Linked DNA regions of Homo sapiens: region 2 is linked to region 1. The links are contacts of gene promoters, found by promoter capture Hi-C in human tissues and cell types (Jung and others, 2019). All regions are on one chromosome and are shown on one strand. Each heading gives the region's core, a stretch centred on a gene start or on the middle of the fragment in contact. The rest is flanking DNA. Distances are from core to core; before and after follow the strand shown.

Region 1 (3,134 bases), core at 470-2,969:
AGATCGAAACCATCCTGGCCAACATGGTGAAACCTCCATCTCTACTAAAACTACAAAAATTAGCTGGGCATGGTGGCGCATGCCTGTAATCCCAGCTACTCAGGAGGCTGAGGCAGAAGAATCGCTTGAACCCGGGAGGCAGAGGTTGCAGTGAGCCGAGATAGTGCCACTACATTCCAGCCTGGCGACAGAGCTAGACTCTGTCTCAAAAAAAAAAAAAAATCCATCTGGTCAAGGAGTTTTTCCTTTTTGTTGCTGTTGTTGTTGTTCACTGCTGTGCCCAGTAGGTGCATAAAAAATATTTGTTGCCAGGTGCTGTGGTTTACATTTGTAATCCCAGCACTTGGGGAGGCCGAGGCAGGCGGATCACTTGAGGTCACGAGTTCGAGACCAGCCTGGCCAACATGGTGAAACCCTGTCTTTACTAAAAATACAAAAAAATCAGCCAGGCGTGGTGGCACGCGCCTGTATTTCCAGCTACTTGTGAAGCTGAGGCACAGGAATAGCTTGAACCTGGGAGGCAGAGGTTGCAGTGAGCTGAGATGGCACCACTGCACCCCAGCCTGGGAGATAAAGGAAGACTCTGTCTCAAACAAAAAAATTTTGTTGCTGGAATGAGGGGCTTTCCTATCCTGTTGTCGAACTGCTGGTTACACACACACACACACACACACACACACACACACACACACACATCATTCGATGAAGGTGTAGTGTCCATCATTTCCGCAGGCAGGCACACAGAAATGCCCAGGAATTAGTGAAAATTGGAAATCTGGATAGAAGACTGGGCCCGACGCTGGAAGGCAGGCACAAACTGGGCCCCGCCAGAGGGGACAGTGATCTACAGAGGCAGGAAAGAGTGTGGAGTGTCCCCAGTCCCCCAAGGGAAACAGGGCAGCACCTGAATTCTGGAGGTCCTATCAAGGGAGAGACTGGTCAGGCACAGTGGCTCACGCCTGTCATTCCAGCACTTTGGGAGGCTGAGGCAGTAGGATTGCTTGAATGCAGCAGTTCAAGACCAGCCTGGGCAACACAGCGAGACCCCATCTCTACAAAAAACTGCAAAAAATTAGCCAGGCATGATGGCGCACCTGTAGTCCCAGCTACTCTGGAGGCTGAGGCAGGAGGCTGAGGCTCCCGTGAGCTATGATTGAGCCACCACACTCTGGCCTGGATGACAGAGCAAGACCATGTCTCAAAAAAAGAAAAAAAAAAAGAGATCAATTTTGTCTTTGGGACAGGACATCGCACTTAGTAGGAATTTATTTGTTGGGTGGACACACAGTAGGCACTTAATGCCTATTTGCTGCGTTGACACCTAGTAGGTACTTCCAAGGCTCTTTGTTGAGTCAATAAATGTGACCTCGTGTTTTCTTCCAAGTCCAGGGTCCCAGGGGTAAGCCCAGAGGTAACCTGGGGTTGAAGACAGTTGTTTCAGGTTGAGGCCACCTGGCCAGGAGTACTGTGACGTCACCAGGCTGCGTGACGTTTCGCGCCGGCCGGTTCTCACGGGTGGGGGCTGGGAGGGGCAGAGTGAGAGATCGGGTGGGGGGGGCGGACAAAGGGCCCTCCGTGCAGCTCCTGTCGGCCCCCGCGTGCGCCCCGGCCAGCCGGCCGGTCACATCTGGAATTCATTGCAGCCGCCGCCGGAAAGGGGAGGAGAGGAGGGCGGGGCGAGCGGGGGGCAGAGGCGGCGGCTCTCCGCCCCCCCCTCTGTCCCTCGTCCCAGCCCCGGGACTTAGCCGAGCCCGGCTGGCAACCCCAGCCCCAGCCGCGGCCGCCCTGGGGACGCAGACGCCAAGGCCCCTCCGGCCAGGGCCGGGAGCCGGGCCGGCCTAGCCAGGTGAGCGCGCGTGGCGACAAGGAGGCAGAAAAGGCGGGCCTGGTCCCCTGAGGTCTCGGGATCCGAGCTGAGGGGCCCCAATCGGGGGGCTGGGGCGCGCACGCGCCGCCTGGGTTCCTGCTGCACGGAGCGGGTGGTCACAGTGCGCCCTCTCCAAGAATCCGGGCGGCCCCCACTGCCTCGGCCGCGAACCCGCAGACTGTGCTCCCCGCCTTTCTCAGCGGCAGGAAGTTGGCGCCGGGGAGAAGGCTGAATCCGAGCGCTTTCGACTGGAGTCTTTGGGAGGCAGGACGCCGTGCTCGGGGACCGGGGTCTTGGGGAGTGTGTTTGGGGGGGGGCAACACCCCTCCTGGCTGACTCCGGCTGAGCGAGGGCAAAAGGATGTGCGCGCCGTGGAGCCTCCAAGCCAAGGGGCGGCACCCACGGGGAGGGCGGTCGGACGTCGGGCTTTCTGCCTCGGTTTCCCCAAGTTGTTTGCCTCCTCCGGTCCCCCGGCGGGGGGCGTGGCTTTGTTTTGTAAGGAAAGAGAAAGTGACTGCGTGGCTCAGACGCCTCCTCTTTCAACTCCGGCTCAGGGATGGGTCGTGGGTGAAGGCGCGCGTGGCGCGGACCTCGCGTGGCCCCGAGCCGGGCGGAGCGTCGGAACTCGCCCCCTTCTCAGGCACGGGTTGACTCACCCGGGGATTTCCACCCCCTCCTCTGTCTCTGTCCTTGTCAGATGCTCCGGGCCCCACGCGCTGAGCCCACAGTCCCCCTCGTGGGGCGACACGGCCAGGCGCGGAACTCGCGGTGCAGCTGCTGCTGCGATCTGGTCCCCCACCCCCAGTCTTCCCAGAATCTCGAGGCGGGACCCCTGGCGGGACGGAGAGGAATCCTTCCAGTGCCGCTTGGAGACGTGGGGGCCCCGCGCGTGTGGCGGTCTCGGGGGCGGGGGGGAGAGGAGGCGTGGCTCCCGCGCGAGCGAGCGTGGATACCGCGCATTCCTAAACCAGATAAGGAGGCCGAGAGTGCGGGCCAGCACGGGGTCGGGTCCTGCTGCCATCTCCATGGAGACACGCTGGGCTTTGCCTGGTTGATGGTGGGCGATGGGGGCGCTGCCCGCGGACCAGAGGTGTCTCCAGGCTCCTTTGTTGCTGTTTGGGTCTGGGCTGAGCTTAGGAGTTTCCACCCTTGGGAACCCACTAGGGTCTCCTTTGTTCATTGGTTCATTCATTCATTCATTCATTTGCCCATTCCACACGTTTTCTGAGTGTTTTATTTGTGCCAGGCATCCCTGTAGGGGCTGATA
Region 2 (3,134 bases), core at 376-2,875, 220 kb after region 1:
TCCCTGGGGAAACACCCTCACATCCTGCGTGTCTGCGCTTGTCCAATTGCATAAAAGCTCTATTTGACCTCATGGGGGCCTCTTCATGCTGGAGGTGGGGGTCCCAGCACGGTGAGGGGGGCCTCTGCCTCATCCCAAGAATGGCAAGAATCCACCCCTTCCTCCCCAGTGGCTGTGCGTTGCTTTGCGACAGGGACAGATTCCCACCACCTCCCACCAACGCGCCGGCCTTTTTTTTTGAGACAGACAGAGTCTTGCTCTGTTGTCCAGGCTGGATCGCAGTGGCACAACCTCAGCTCACTGCAACCTCCACCTCCCGTGTTCAAGTGATCCTCCCACCTCAGCCTCCCAAGTAGCTGGGACTACAGGCGCCAGTCACAATGCCTGGCTAATTTTTGTATTTTTAGTAGAGATGGGGTTTCGCCATGTTGGCCAGCTGATCTCTAACTCCTGGACTCAAGCGATCTGCCCGCCCCAGCCTCTCAAAATGCTGGGATTACAGGCATGAGCCACCGCACCCAGCTCAGACTCCCTCATTTGGTGGGGATTTGGGATTGAGGCCGGGGCATCCACTGGAGACCTGAGTTGGGGCGGGGGGAGATGAGGGTTAGGGATGGAGATGAGACCCTTTATTTGAGGAATCAAGAATTTGGGGAAAGTGAAAACTGTGTTTTGGGATCTGTGGTGAGAATTTGGGACCAGGACACGTGACTTAGGGATTTGAGTGGACAGATGAAGGTTTGGAGTAAGGCTGGGGACCCCATTTTGGGATCTGGGGTGAGATTTGAGGTGGGATGAGGACCCGTTAGGGACTTGAAGGAAAGGCTTTGGGGCTGAGGCTGGTACCTCCTATTGTGCAGCTGAGGGACTGAGGATAAAGCAGGTAGGTGAGTGAGAGTTCGGGGTGAGGTTGGGACCCCAGTTGGGGGCCTGAGTGAGGCAGAAAGGACTTGGTGCCAGGGGCGGTGGCTCATGCCTGTAACTCCAGCGCTTTGGGAGGGCAAGGCCGGAGGATCGCTTGAGACCAGAAGTTCAAGACCGGCCTGGGCAGCATAGCAAGATCCCGGTCTCTACAAAATATACATATTTTAAAATTAGCTGGGTGTGGCAGTGTGTGCCTGTGGTACCTGCTTCTCAGGAGGCTGAGGCAGGTGGATGGCTTGAACGCAGGAGTTGGAGGCTGCAGTGAGCTATGATTGCACCACTGCACTCCAGCTTGGGTGACAGATCAAGACCCTGTCTCCAAAATAAAATGTAAAAATAATAGAAAATAAAAAAGATTTGGTATAAAGCTGCACCTCCTCCTAATTCTAGGGCCTGGATGGAGGCTGAAGTCTTGAATGAGGTTAAGGTCTCCTTTGAGGGGATCTGCTAGGCGGAAAAGGTTTGGGGTAAGACTGGAACCCTCGAACTCTAGGGCTGGGTGGGAGTGACCCTTCTCCTCCACAGTGGGGTGGGGCAGGAACAACCCAGCTCCTGGCGCTGGGCTCCACCCCAGCCAGCCAATCAGCCCTCAGCACAAAGTTTCCCAACTTCCCAGTCCAGCTGTCAGCGCTCCCCCTCCAAAAAGCCCCGCCTGGCCAGGCGCTGGAGCGCAGGGCGAGGCCAGGGCGGGGTCTCGGGCAGTTTCCCGCGGACCCTGAGAGGAGCGGCCGCCGCGAGTGACTGCACCGAGCCCGAGAAGTCGCCGCGCCCCGCAGCCGCCCCGACTGGTTCCCCGCCTTGCCCGTGGGCCCCGCCGGGATGGGGAACCGCCGGGACCTGGGCCAGCCGCGGGCCGGTCTCTGCCTGCTCCTGGCCGCGCTGCAGCTTCTGCCGGGGACGCAGGCCGGTGAGCCGGGAGGGAAGAGATGGGACCCAGGGTCCACGACTCAGAGAGGCTCTAAAAGAGCGAGGGGTGGAGGGGGGTGGAGGGGCGTGGAGGGGAAGGGCGTGGGCGCCGCGTGCGGCCCCGGTGTGATGTGGGCGCATGAGTATCTGACTCTGGGTGATTTGTGGGTGTGACAGCTCGGGGTGGGGGTGGGGATGTGTGAGTGCGTTTTCTGGCGAGCGCGTGGGAATGCATGCAATGTGCAGGTGTGTGCATGTGTGTATGTGTGTGTAGCATGTGTGTGCATTTGGAGTGAAGTTGCGTATGTGCTTGCGTGTGGAGGTTGATGGTGATAGTGTGACTGTGAGTGACAGGGCAGTGCTGGGACGGTGTGTATTGCGACAGGTGAGTATGCACTTGTGCTCTTGTCTATGTGCTGATTTTCGAGGGTAACCGTGTGAGTGGTTATGCGTGTGATTGTGTGTCTCTGAGTGCCGCTATGAGGGGTGTAGTTATGATTTTTGGGTGCAAATAATTGCCCATGAGGATGAAGGTGGGTGGGGACAAGTATTGGGGGGTGCTCTTCGGGAACCCACAGTTTCCTTTGCGTCTCTTTAAATGGCTTCACCTCATTCTCCCTTTTCCTCCTCTGCCCCAAATTGGCGAGCGCCCATCTCCTCCCCTCCCTCCCTGTTGCCCCCTCCCCCACCCCGCGGTCCCCAGAGCCGCGATCAGCACCATGGACAGGGCTTCGGGGAGGGCCGCGGTGAGGGGCGAGACGGGGCGGGGCGCAGGGCGGGGCAGGAGTGGAAGTTGCTCCCCCCCTCCCCACCCCAGCTGCTGGAGCCTTGGGTGTTTTTCCCGAGGAATTTCTCAGGAGCCCCCAAGGGGTCCCGGGGGCCGCCGGATGGGTGAGTCAGCGCTGACGCACGCCCAGCTGCGCGCATCTGGCTGGGCGCCCTGTCCCGCCCCTCAGGGTTCAGAGTGGGGGGCGCTTCGGGAGTCAGGGGATGGCGTAGCTTCTCAAGTGTTGGAGATGGGGCTTCCCTGATCTGAGAGACCCTAGACTAGGTCCTCCTGGAAATCCCTTTCTAAGGTGAGCTCAGTCTCCCAACACACACACACACACACACACACACACACACACACACACACACCACAGCACACTTCTTACTTTGGAGTCCAGGAAGGTGCCTGTCCATATGGTTAATCCCTGATTGGACTATGCCGCATTCCCACGCTCACACATCCACATGGTCATGGAATCTTAGGCATCCACTCTGAATATAAGTCCCCTGGGACTCCAGGAATGTGAAACACCGTG

The links. The method cuts DNA at HindIII sites, captures the fragments that hold promoters and counts their contacts. A contact is called where the count stands out against the background at its distance.
Region 2: a contact is called between the fragment with the promoter of COL5A3 here and the fragment with the promoter of S1PR2 in region 1, in 1 of the 25 tissues and cell types used here (dorsolateral prefrontal cortex).

What each region holds. Positions count from the first base shown.
Region 1 is chr19:10,229,916-10,233,049 of GRCh38, reverse strand. It overlaps S1PR2 (sphingosine-1-phosphate receptor 2), which reads left to right and starts at 1,719. Exons shown (of 2, transcript NM_004230.4): 1 at 1,719-1,846. MIR4322 (microRNA 4322) reads right to left here and starts at 2,637; the gene lies at 2,565-2,637. RefSeq lists enhancers at 1,165-1,214, 2,361-3,075, 3,015-3,094 and silencers at 1,415-2,074, 2,785-2,834. The HindIII fragment of the contact is 35,191 bases long and covers 1-3,134 here.
Region 2 is chr19:10,008,995-10,012,128 of GRCh38, reverse strand. It overlaps COL5A3 (collagen type V alpha 3 chain), which reads left to right and starts at 1,625. Exons shown (of 67, transcript NM_015719.4): 1 at 1,625-1,831. The coding sequence starts at 1,744. The HindIII fragment of the contact is 11,359 bases long and covers 1-3,134 here.